4 separate regions of the Homo sapiens genome follow, and regions 2, 3 and 4 are each linked to region 1. Evidence: promoter capture Hi-C in 16 types of primary human blood cells and fetal thymus (Javierre and others, 2016). All regions are on one chromosome and are shown on one strand. The core of a region is centred on a gene start or on the middle of the fragment in contact, and the rest is flanking DNA. Distances in the headings are between cores, read along the strand shown. Region 1 holds the start of LINC02332 (long intergenic non-protein coding RNA 2332). Region 2 has its middle 290 kb from the start of OR4E1. Region 3 holds the start of C14orf119 (chromosome 14 open reading frame 119). Region 4 holds the start of LOC124903288 (a long non-coding RNA gene).

Evidence for each region. Contacts are between HindIII fragments. The CHiCAGO score rates a contact against its expected background, and 5 or more counts as called.
Region 2: a fragment that was not itself captured here is called in contact with the fragment with the promoter of LINC02332 in region 1 in 4 of 17 cell types (naive CD4 T cells, total CD4 T cells, activated CD4 T cells and 1 more); the score reaches 10.6 in naive CD4 T cells.
Region 3: the fragment with the promoter of C14orf119 here is called in contact with the fragment with the promoter of LINC02332 in region 1 in 1 of 17 cell types (neutrophils); the score reaches 5.1 in neutrophils.
Region 4: a fragment that was not itself captured here is called in contact with the fragment with the promoter of LINC02332 in region 1 in 1 of 17 cell types (total B cells); the score reaches 5.4 in total B cells.

Annotation. Positions count from the first base shown.
Region 1 is chr14:22,555,467-22,558,509 of GRCh38, reverse strand. It overlaps LINC02332 (long intergenic non-protein coding RNA 2332), which reads left to right and starts at 1,448. Exons shown (of 3, transcript NR_146543.1): 1 at 1,448-1,559; 2 at 1,657-1,718; 3 at 1,988-2,199. LOC105370399 (a long non-coding RNA gene) reads right to left here and starts at 1,944. Exons shown (of 2, transcript XR_007064066.1): 1 at 944-1,944. RefSeq lists enhancers at 843-1,052, 1,913-2,252, 2,303-2,402, 2,983-3,043 and a silencer at 1,753-1,802. The HindIII fragment of the contact is 9,123 bases long and covers 1-3,043 here.
Region 2 is chr14:21,957,670-21,960,712 of GRCh38, reverse strand. It overlaps TRA. Among named protein-coding and RNA genes, the nearest start is that of OR4E1, 290 kb to the right of the region's middle. The HindIII fragment of the contact is 2,966 bases long and covers 79-3,043 here.
Region 3 is chr14:23,094,075-23,097,117 of GRCh38, reverse strand. It overlaps C14orf119 (chromosome 14 open reading frame 119), which reads right to left and starts at 1,613. Exons shown (of 2, transcript NM_017924.4): 1 at 1,499-1,613. ACIN1 (apoptotic chromatin condensation inducer 1) reads left to right here and starts at 1,982. Exons shown (of 19, transcript NM_001386863.1): 1 at 1,982-2,143. The coding sequence starts at 2,006. RefSeq lists enhancers at 1,179-1,702, 1,582-1,791, 1,812-1,891, 1,703-2,226, 1,932-2,241. The HindIII fragment of the contact is 5,470 bases long and covers 1-1,747 here.
Region 4 is chr14:23,075,806-23,078,848 of GRCh38, reverse strand. ACIN1 (apoptotic chromatin condensation inducer 1) reads left to right here. Exons shown (of 19, transcript NM_001386863.1): 7 at 1-29; 8 at 583-698. It overlaps LOC124903288 (a long non-coding RNA gene), which reads right to left and starts at 583. Exons shown (of 2, transcript XR_007064077.1): 1 at 152-583. RefSeq lists an enhancer at 1-457. The HindIII fragment of the contact is 1,376 bases long and covers 970-2,345 here.

The DNA of each region.
Region 1 (3,043 bases), core at 199-2,698:
GCTGCGGAGGTAGTGACAAAATCATGGTGTAACAAGAAGCTCCTAGGGCCGAAGTGACTGGAGAGGTGGCCACATACTATGAGAAACACCAGCGCACCGGCAGGGCCTGGGGAGTTCTGAGCTCTCCCGGGCTGTGTGAAGCCGCAGCCAGCCCACTTTTTTCTCAGTATGGCAGTGCCATCTGACCTGGCCCAGCCCATCTTGTTCGGGTCATGGTTCGTCTTCCTGGGCATTCTGATGCATTCCCACTTCATATTTGCACTGGGATTTCAGTTTACTAAGCATTCCACACCCATTACTGCTTTCAATCCCTTCAACAACACTGAGAATAGGTGGGCAGGTATTTTTATCTCTATGTGAATAATAACACATGGGGACTCAGAAAAATTAAAGGCCCCAGGAGAGAAGGCTAGTGAGGGGCAGTGACGCTTAGGGACAAACAACTGGTTCTCCTGCCTCCTGCCTGAGGACTCCTGCCTGAGGAGAATATAGTAACAAAAGCCTCTGTCTTGCAATTGCAGCCATTAACACATCTCTTTCATACCCACTACTCACTGGACTGTTAACTCCTTGAAGACAGAAACTCTGTGTGTGTGTGTGTGTGTGTGTGTGTGTGTATTTAATGGGAGCAGTACTTTCTTGAGGCATAATTACATGAAAATACACTAATGATGCATTTGATATATATATAGCCATCACCCAAGATAAAGATATGGAACATTTCCACCACCCCTGAAGGTTTCCTCGTGCCCCTTTTCAATCCATCCTTCTACCCCAGAGGCAAACAGTGCCCTAATTTCTATCACCTGTGATGCGTTTTGCCTGTTCTTGGACTTCATCTGTATGGAGTCATAGTTTGCACAGAGACTGAATCCCCAGAGCACGACACAGCCTGGCACATGGCAGGTATACAATGCCAAAGAAAGCCTGGTTCTTAAACTACCTGTGAGAGAGAGTTCGTCCCACCGGGAAACTGAGGCGGTGGGCGGTTAGTGACCTGCCAAAGGCACGAGTGTATGATGTGGTGGATCCCGGACTCCAGCCAGCCTAATTCCGAACCCAAGGCCTCCTCCGGGCCCCCAGCCCTCCCTGGGCACTTCCTCCAGGGCTCCGGGTGGAGCGGGTCTGACGATCCCGGACGAACAGCGCCCCCTGCTGCCGGCCCAGGCCCCAGGCCCTCCTCTCCTTTGGGGGGGGATGTGACAGGATGACACAGGCCTTGCGCCCAGCGCAGTGACGGGCACAGGGCAGGGACTTGTGGGATAAAAGTCACCTGCCCTTTTATTTTCCTCGGAAAAGAGCTTTTCCTAAACTTTGGGGGCTTTCTATCTCCAGAATTAACAGACAAAGGGAGAAGAGGTCTTTTTGGTGGAGCGCTGCTGCCCCCATGCGGGTGGATGGCGACACTACCGAAGAGCAGGCGATCAAGCCTGGTATTTTTGGGTTTCAGGTTCTGCGGCTCCCTGAGACCAGCAGATTCCTGGTCTCCGGGTCCCTGGGTCCCGGACGTGTCCATCAAGGCGTCCATTAGGGCCATCACCTAATGGACAAGCATCAGGGTAAGGGGGGAGGTGCTATTGGGGGGGGGTCCCTCAGAGAATCAGCCCTAGCTCTGTGTGGGGGCAAATACGGCCTCCCCACCTCCTTCCCTCCCAGGAGACACTGGCCTGAGCATAAGTCTCGAGGGTCTGCCCTGTACTAAGCAAGCGCTTAATCAGGTGAGATCAAGGTCTGATCTTGGCTGGTTTGGAGGGGCAGCAGAGGTGCGGTGAGGGAGGCGGCTCAGCGGTGGGGCCAGCAGCACCTCCCCAGCCTGCTTGCGGGCCCGGTGCAAGTCACCGAGGGGCCGGCAGCCCCTCCCAGCCTGGCATGTTGGCCTTGCTGCACCTGCGGTTGGGGGGTGGTGTAACGGCCCAGCCTGCTCCCCTCGGCACGTGGCCTGGGGCGATGCTATCTCTAACTCAGTATTTTAAACTCTTCTTTCCAGAGGATGTGGCTTCTGCGGGAGAGCTTCAAAGGGTGCCCTACTTGCCCCTCTTGGTAACCATGACGTCATGGAAATGGGAGGGGACCGCCCCAGCCCCCAAACACCTGGAGGGAAGTGGGAGACTTTTTCCACTTCCTGTTCTACTTGTGGCTACTGACTCAATGTCTGACCTGTTTATTAATTGCAAAATATAGCTCTATGTGTGCTACCCAGAGAGGCCTCAGGCCTGTGTGTCTCTGTGTGAAAGGAGGCCTGCACTCCCCACCCCTCGCCGCGTTGCCCAGGTGGCCTTGACACAGACGCAGGGCGCTGGTGGTCCTGCAGCCTTCCGGCAGCCAGAATGACAGCACTGGGTCTCCATGTGCTTGCTCCCCCAGACTCATCCCAGTCAGAAGCTCGTCTTCCCACACATGGCTCACGGAGGTAGATGGGTTTTAGAGTAGGACTCATGGAGAAACTGAGGCGAACCCACATAAAGTGACTGTTGGCTCTGGACCTCAGTGTGGTCACACAGTGAGGTCAGACTCCCAGGTACCCTGCGTGATTTACCACAGTCCCTGTCCTCCAGGCTTTGTTGGATAGATGTGTGCCTGCCTGGGGGCTGCCCTGAGCAAGGGGCCACCACTCAGGCTTTCCTTGTTCTGAAGTTCTTGACAAGTTACTTTAGCTCTTGGCAAAACTGTGAAGCATTGACTCACCTGACCACTTCCTCTACTAATCCCCACTTTCCTTTCTCCTGTACTCCCCACTCCTCACACTCAGCTCCCCCCACCCAGAGCCTAACTGCAGGAGTCATTCACTTATTCATTTAACGGCATCTGTTGTGTGCCAGGCACTGTTCTAGTTCCTGGGGACACATTGATGACAAGGGACATTCCCATCCCACAGAGCACACAGGCCAGGGGACTTCCACACTAGGATGGTACCTGATAATAAGGTGCTATAGGCCTGTCTGTATACGTGATCCCAGGGGAGTTGAATTTTATGTTTGGACCTAAAAAATAAGCAACTCCTTAAGACTCAGATGGCTGCCCCCAGTGAGGGTAGCAGCAGAGG
Region 2 (3,043 bases), core at 312-2,811, 600 kb after region 1:
GTGCCATAAGTAATAAAAATCCTTTGTCTCTTACTAAGGAGCCCTGTGTTTTTATTGACAGCCTCAATGAAACAAGCTTATTAGCTTGTAAGAAGGGACAAAATCCAAGACCTGACAAATCCTCACTAAAGGAGTTGTAAAGATTTGTAAAGTAAAGATTTAAATTACACATGAGAAAGGTAAGTTTCTCCAAACTGGTATGAAACAGGCCTTTTATGAAGGATATAACATACATAGCTGAGAAAGGTAAGTTTCTCCAAACTGGTATGAAGCAGGCATTTTTCGGAGGATATAATATACATAGCCCCATGTGGTAATTAACCATCACTTCTAATAAAACGCTTGAGCAATTTTCTAATATCCTTTAATGAAATAAAGATTCCTTCTGGGAAATTAGTGTTACAAACTCAAATGACCATTAATCTTGTGAGAAGCCTAATAGTCACTACACAGGCAGTCAAAAGCAGGGTAATTATGCAACCGTCATTTGAATGCAATAATGATCTTTAACCAGATTTTTAAAAATCTGGATTCCTGTAACAATATACCAAGGCTAATTATTTGAATTTGTTTCTTGAGGAGCTTTTTCTCTTGCAGTAATTTGAAATAAAACTTTGATATGTGCTCATAATTATTAGGCTTGAGAAGTTACTTTTATACTTTCCAAACATCTTTTAAGTATGTCGTTTTTCTTTTAGATATTTCGCTATGGGTTACTAGCCTTAAGAGTTGACTCAGTCCTTCACATCACATCTGATAAGGTGAGGTCAATTAAGTGAGGAAAGGTTGAGGCCCTGAGTGAATCTATTTGACAGAAGCCACTAAGTACAAAAAGACTGGGTTCTGAGTCTGGGGGTGAGGGCCAGAGAAAATTGAGCTGCCCCACATAGTGAAGTAGAGACAACATACACAAAGGTCAAAGTTGCTAGAGTGGGAATGAGAGGAAGGGAAAAGGGAGAAAGAGGGGAGGGCCAAACAAATTTCATTCTTCATTCACTCAGTAGAATTTTTGACCGATTACTATGGGCTAGTCATTATTCTAGACACTAAGAATAAAGCCAGGAAGAGGAGCTCCAAGATCGTCAATTAGACACAGCTAGAAAGAGCTTCTCCTACCAAGAGATCAGACCATCAGGAAGACTTGCATTCTCTGAGGGTATCGTCAGAAAGAATGCATTGAGAATGGATGGAGACAAGACTCAGACCCTGGACCAAAGTGAGAGGAACCCGGGAACCCTGCACAGGGCTGCCAAGCACTGGGACTCATTCATGACGCTCAATGTCTCCAGAGGAAAGGCTGAATTAGATAGGTGAGCATTTGCTAACTCCTCCCATGGACCTCTCGAATCCTAACTGCAGGAGACCCCATGATGCCCATAGAAATTTGAGCTGGCAGGGAGAGCTACTTGGAGTGCTGGCAGTGACAGGACTCTAGCCTGTGTGAAGCCCAGAGTGTTTAGCATGGGAATAGAGGCAGTGAGCCCAGTAGGGATGCCTATTCCCCAAGGTGCACCATGCTCCTCTACGTGGCTCTAGCCTTTGTTGACTGTCAGACCTGGACAGAGTAGAGGTGTCTTGCCCATGGGTCAGGACTAGTCTGATCTGAGCACCCCCTTGTCTGCCGACCTCTCCCAGGGTCCCTACCTGACCATGCCTACTTGCAACTCTGCGTTAGGTGTCCAACCAGGGCACTTCCTGGTGACTGGTGTCATAGCTACTTCACCAGCAAACTCTGCCTAACCATCAGAGAGCTTCTGCAGACAGGCCACTGCTGACACATATCCACACCCTCCCGCCATTGCCCCTGGCACAGGTGTACATGAGCCCTGATCCTGCTGCCACAAGTTCAATGAAGTGCTTTTGCCAGCACCCCCAAGTGGAGTGTTGATGTCAGCAAACCAGTAACACCTCAGCCCCTCCAGTTCAGTCGGTACTTAACCTAAAGGGGCCAGAGAACAAAGAAGTGGGCCTGGTCCCAACCCCATAGGGTTAGAGCATGCAGTGCAGGAATGCTCATCTGAACCCGGGACCCCTGAAATCATCCAGAAATGAAGCCAGTTGACTGAACGCAACTTATTCCACAGTCAAATCCCTCAAGGGCATAAAATAATATAAAAGTAAAAAAAAAATTCAAAGGACAAGAACTTCAAATATTAAAGGATCATCAGCCTACACAGATGATAAATAACCAACACGACAACTTTGGCACCTCAAGAAGCTAGAGTGTCTTCTTACTTCCAAACAACCACACTAGCTCCCAGGCAATGGTTGTTAACCAGGCTGAAATGGCTGAAATGACACACAGAGCAGTCACAATTTGGATGTAAGAACATTGAGATTCATAAGAAAATTGAAACCCAATCCAAGGAATCTAAACAATGTAAAGAAATAAAATAATATGAGATCTGAAAGACAAAATAGCCATTTTAAGAAAGAACCAAACTGTTCTGATAGAGCTGAAAAACTCATTACAAGAACTTTATAATACAATTGTTAAGTATTAACAGGAGAATACAACAAGCTGAGGAAAGAATCTCAGAGGTCAAAGAATAGTTCTTGGAATCAACTCAGTCAGACAAAAATAAAGAAAAAAGAATAAAAAATAATGAACAAAAATTTCTGAAAAATATGGGATTATGTAAAGACACCAAATTTATAATTCACTGGCATCCCTGAAAGAGAGAGAGAAAGAGAAAGGAACTTGGGAAACATATTTGAGAATATTGCCCATAAAAATTTTCCCAACCTCACTAGGAAGGTCAACATTCAAATTCAGGATACTCAGGGAGCCCCAGCAAGACATTGTACAAGACAACCATCTCCAAGACACATCGTCATTAGATTCTCCAAGGTTAACGGGAAAGAAAAAATATTAAAGGCCACTAGAGGGAAGGGGCTGGTCATCTACTAAGGAAACCCCATCAAGATAACAGTGAACTTTTCAGTAGAAACCTCATAAACCAGAGGAGATTAAGGGCTTATATTCAGCATCCTTAAAGAAAATAAATTCCAAACAAGAATTTCATAGCCAACCACACTAAGC
Region 3 (3,043 bases), core at 364-2,863, 540 kb before region 1:
ACTCCATAACATCCGTTACCTCCTTACATTTCCTGTAAAGCACCAGGAAAAGTTAAAAAGCAGAGTAAGGACCTTGCTCAAAATAAGGTAACGCATGAAAGAACCAGAAGCCCGGGTGTTTGAGACGTTCTTAAAAAAGAGTCCAGTTGGTTTGTTGGCTTAGAGATCTAACAAGTGTTATACTATTTTATGACAATCCATGTCTTTAAACAATTGTCCTTAATATTTAGTATGGGCCAGACGCGGTGGTTCTTGCACTTCCAAAGTAATCTCAGCACTTTGAGAGGCCGAGGCAAGAGGATCGCTTGAGCCCAGGTGTTCGAGACCAGCCTGGGCAACATGGCAAAACCTCATCCCTACAAAAAATAAAAAAATTAGTTGAGCGTAGAGGTGCCTACCTGTAGTCCTAGCTACGTAGGAGACTGAGGTAGGAGCATCACCTGAGCCCGGGAGGTTGAGGCTGCAGTGAGCCCTGATCGCGCCACTGCACTCCAGCCTGCGTCAGAGTGGAGGGACCCAGAGTGGAGTGACAAAAAAAAAATTTTTTTTTTTTTTTAGTATGGTATCTATTGGTGCCTTGCAATTTTTTTTTTTTTTTTTTTTTTTTTTGAGACGGAGTCTTGCTCTGTCACCCAGGCTGTAGTGCAATGGCGTGATCTCAACCACTGCTTCCTGGGTTCAAGCGATTCTCCTGCCTCAGCCTCCCGAGTAGCTGGGACTATAGGCGTACGCCACCACGCCCGGCTAATTTGTTTGTATTTTTAGTAGAGACGGGGTTTCACCATATTGGCCAGACTGGTCTCCAACTCCTGACCTCAAGTGATCCGCCCGCCTCGGCCTCCCAAAGTGCTGGGATTATAGGCGTAAGCCACCGCGCCCGGCACCTTGCCACTGATTTTGCATCATGAATGCAACGGAAAGATCAGCCAATTTGACTTTAATAGTTTTCAGTCTCTTAAATCTCTAACGTATCTCTTAAATCTCTAAACTATTTGTCTGTGACCTATTTTACTGTTTGTGTTTCTTCTGCATCAAGTTGGAGGATTGGTAGTGACAAAGAAAGAAGCCCCTAAACAATTAATATTAGTTCAAGTACCAAAAAAGTTCAGGGCGCTTGCATTTTCCAGTTCTTGCCCTACAGGAAGCAGTTCCTCCAAGGGAACTTACTCTCTTCTGCGGAGCAAGGAAGAACTTTCCCAGAATCTTGCCACATGGCTTCCAAGGCAAACTCAAACTCAAGTTCAGCGTCATAGATCAGTTCATAGTCTGGGTCCGAAGACACGGCGATGCTTCTTGCGCACCCCCACGGAGCTTGTTATTCCGATTCCGCACCAGCCCCCCGCCCCTCCCCAAAAAAAGCCTAAGATGGGAGTGGCTATGATTCAGAGGACAGAGGGCAGAAGCTGTTTGCGTTAAGGAGTGGGGGGCTTGCCCTATTAAGGTAATCCGCAAACACCGAGTCTGACCCGGCCCATAGAGGTACTTCTACCCCGCTTACCTCCCCTTTTCTCTCGAAGGGCACCCGAAGATTGTCACGAGTCCTTAGACTCCAACTACTGCGGCAGCTTCCAAATTTCCTGAAAACCCTAAGCTGGGCCAGCCCGGCAGCCCACGCACTTCCGGCCTCGGACCCGCCCCAAACACCCAAGCGCCCCAGCGCCTCATCTCTAGGTCCGGAAATAAACGAACATCTCCGATTATGGTTATACCAGGGTCGAGGGTTTCCGAATATATTCGATTCAAAGCTTCGGCAAGACGAAGAAAACCGAGCCTGAAAGCAGGGCGAGAAAAGGGGCGCTGCAGGGCGGATGGAAAGAATTGATTGGTAACGATGTGGAGACGGAAACATCCGAGGACATCCGGAGGAACCCGGGGAGTTCTGAGTGGTAATCGAGGGGTAGAGTATGGCAGTGGGCGGGGTCATCTCGGTACGTTCGAAGGGCGTTGGCGGAAATTACCGAAGATGCCCGAAGCCGTCGGGACGGACCCGAGTACCTCACGCAAGATGGCGGAGCTGGAGGAGGTGACTCTGGACGGGAAGCCTCTTCAGGCGCTGCGGGTGACCGACCTGAAGGCCGCACTGGAGCAGCGAGGCCTAGCCAAGAGCGGGCAGAAGAGTGCCCTGGTCAAGCGGCTCAAAGGGGTGAGGAGTCGGCGTTGCTGGGGTGTCGGAGGAGAGCGGACCCGGTAGAGACGAGCCTCTGCCGCGGCGCAGGCGCAGTATCCGGGCTCGGCGCGAGCTCGCTCAGGCCGCCAGCGCGAGCCTCTGGATCCGCGCGCACGGTGGTTGATGAGGTTCGCGCTGGAATGGAGATCGCGCCGGTTCCCGCCTTAACGGCAGCAGCGCGAGCCCAAATGGGAGGGTGTGCACTACTCTCCAGGAGTGTCTTAAGCTCCTTCCTCCTTCCCCCACCCCCTCCTTGTTTGTATCTGTGGTTTCGGCGCATGCGCTGCAGAAGGAGTTAAATCCCACTACAACCTACGGCGTTGCTGGCCTGAGGGGGGCGAGTTGGGCTGGGTCGGAGTTAGGGGTATAGTTGCGCGAAGGGGTGGATGGGGTTGGTATCGGTATCTGCACGAATAGGACTGGGGTAGGGTAAAATGTCTGCTCGATTAGATGAGGAGGTGAGATGAAGAGAGACCTTTATTTGAAGGGACTTGATGAGAGAGAGGTCTCTAATTTAGTGGCATCTAGTGGCAATTTGGGTGGTTAAGAGTTTGGTGAATATTGGTGAGAGAGGCGAGGCAGGTTGATATATATTGGGGATTTTGAATCGGTTTGAGTAGATTAAGGTGGGATTGTCATGAGGTAGGTGTAGCTCGATTCAAGTGTATAGGTTTGGTTTAAAGAAGGGAAGATGAGGATGTCTTGGTTTTAATTAGAGTTCAACAGGATACGTGGCAGGTAGTGCAGATTAGGTCTGGGTTGGCTCCAGGGTTGAGTTGGCAGACCGTTGCTTATACAGAAGCTGATAGTTTTGTGTGTGTGTGTTTGTGTGTGTGTGTTTGTGTGGATAGACTAGGTTAGACCACAGTTTACAGG
Region 4 (3,043 bases), core at 408-2,907, 520 kb before region 1:
ATGTGACCCAGAGGTTACAGCCTGAGCGGGTAGGCTATTGTGACCCCTCCCTACACAGAGATGGAGGATTAAGCAAGATCTTCCCTCTTGTCTTTGCTATAAAACTAAAAAGTTAAGTCTGGACAAGGTTCAGTAGAAATGTGGTGGATACCTGTTAATCCTGCTTAACTCATTTCCAGCTCCCTGGTTCGTAGAAGTTCTACATGAGGCTGAGCAGCAGGGTTATCTCCAGGGCCCCCAGGGTCAATTCTTCCTCATAACTCCTCCTTTTATCTGCCAAAAGGAAGTCAGCCTTTTCTCAGTTCTCTCAAAAAAGAATTCTGTCAGAACAAGGATCACTGAGGAAAAGGAAAAAAATTAAAAATTCTGATAAAATGATTACTGGCATAAATATTCTTGAAGTACCTATTTTTAAGCCATGTTCCTTTCCTTATTCTAAAATGAAATAACAGATACAGAGGGCCGTGTGTGGAGCTGGTACTGTGTATGTCCTGCCCTGCCTTTTTCAGGCTCCAGGTAGAAGAAAAGGAACCAAGCAGATCTAAATGTTTTGCTCTGTTCGTTTTTGCTATCTCCTGACAGGGGAGCCCAAAGAAGTGTGAAGCTGAAGAGGCAGAGCCACCAGCTGCCACACAGCCCCAAACCTCAGAGACTCAGACCTCTCATCTGCCAGAATCAGAAAGAATTCATCACACTGTGTAAGTGATATATCTCGACCGGGGTATAACAGGGAACTATGAGTGTGCGATAGTTCTTCGCTCCCTAGGGTTCTTTGACTAAGCAGTCCTAGTTTCCTTTTAAAACATAAAGGCAGAGCTTTATCTGGACAAAGGCTAGACTTCAGTTACTATGTTGGGAGCTGCCACCTTTAAGGTAACCTGAAAAGTGGTCGTCAGGGCACAAGGAAAACTCACCTGGGATCATCCAGCCAAAATAGTCAACTCCTTTAAGATTTAGGCAATAGAAGCTTCTGCTTCCACACTCAAAACCATGTAAGGGAATTGACTCCGGGCATCTTAATCTTTAACTCATGTTTACCTAGGAACCCAGTTTAATAAAGGATATTGAGGGTCTTAATAAAGGCACAGCTGGGTGCTATTTTTTAGTTTGTGCATTTTCCCTAGTTCCCTAGTTACTACCTGTCATTAAGCTATCCTAGTTCTGCTAGGATATCCTAGTTCTTACAGCATACAGTACAGCAAATTATGAAGTTCCTTTCAAGTCAGAAGTTTGTTCCTGGGCCCTTAAGACCATTTGATTGAACTTAAAATTTATACAATTAATGTGAGTTTTTAAAATCTTTATATTAAGTCCTAGAGAAATACTCATATCAGGTTAAATTAGAATTAAATAGGTATGTCATTCATTCTTCTGAGATAGGTATTATAAATTAAGAAGCCAATGAGCCAGAATTCCTGGCTTCAAAGTCTCCTGGGAAATGAAAAAATGAAGCCTTATGGGAATAAGATTGCGTAGCTTTTAGACATCAGGAACCCTGAACTGCTTTGTAGAATGTCCTGTGTAGACTGTTAGCCTAAAGTTATTCTATACTTGTTTTTATGCCATATTAACACTAATGCTACCAGTATGATTTCCCCTATATGTAATTGTCTAATAATTTATACTCTTCTGAGAGCTTCAAACTGTACTTTAACTCTGACTTTTGGAGGGTAGTGGGCAGGTGACATGATTTATCTCATTTGCCTGTGACTTTAATGATAGTTTTATAGACCTTACTATATAGCTTTTACCTGGGGGTATACCCTTGCTGAGGGGTATAATCCTTGTCGATTCTGACAGTCTTACCTCTGCTGCCATCTTGTGGCTGTTAACATTTTTTGTTTGGCAGCCAAAAGTTCACTCTACTTCCTTTGAAATTTTTTGGTTTTTCCCTTCTGGAATGGGTACGCTATCCTTTGGAAAAGGGTTTTTCTTCTGGGACCATAAAGTGAAAACTCAGCGGATTCTGGAAGGTATTCAGGATTCCCCAGCTACATCATCGATGAGGAAATGGGGTGACATTTTCTCTTCCATATCCCTCAACCAGACATAATACCTGCCCCCCTCCTCCCAATTCCATGGAGGTACATTTTACATTCCATTTTACAAAAGCATGTCCTTTGTGAAATGGCAGTTTTGAAGTGGGTATTGACAGCCTGCTACTAATTGGGCCTGAGGAACTGCTTCCGATGCACCTTGGGAAGAAAGTGATTTTCTGAAAAGCTCTTTGCTAGCCTTAAAATTCTGTGGGTTTATGAGATCCTAGCAACAGAAAGGCATTTTATTTTGTTTTGAAGCAGCTTTTTTTCTGGACATTCCCATGCAAGTCCAGGGCACATGAAGCTTGGAGTCATAGAGTTTCCTGTCCCCCCACTCCAGGTAAAGGTGGTTTTGATCTTCATTTTATGACTGAGATAATTTAGTCACATTGATTCTAATAAGATGATAGGCAAGTGGCATCTTGGGCAAATACTTAGATTGTCCATTGTTGCCTAGGCCCGCTTCAGTGGAGTAGTGTATAGAAGGGAAATGCAGTCTTCACTGAGGAGCAGTTCACACACATCACTCGTACCTGCTTTCCTTCTACCTGCCTATCACATGGGTTGTTCAACATTCTAACAAAACAGCATGCCCAGAAGCCTAAACCCATAGGCATTGGATCTGGTAAATAAATCTTTGAGAAGGTTGCATACATTTCTGGAGGCCCTACCACAACTGATTAACAACACCCTTCCTGGTCTCTCACCCCTCCAGAGTGTTAAGTGTGCAGTCTGGCAGCCCTCTAGAGCTCTGGCCAATTTTGAAAGCGTAATCAACAATGCTAAATGGAAAAGACCATTTATGGCATGGCCAGGCGTGGTGACTCATGCCTGTAATTGCAGCACTTTGGGAGGCCAAGGCAGGTGGATCACCTGAGGTCAGGAATTCGAGACCAGCCTGACCAACATGGTGAAACCCCGTCTCTACTAAAAATACAAAATTAGCCGGGCATGGTGTGCACCTGTAATCCCAGTTACTCAGGAGGCTGAGACAGGAGAATCGC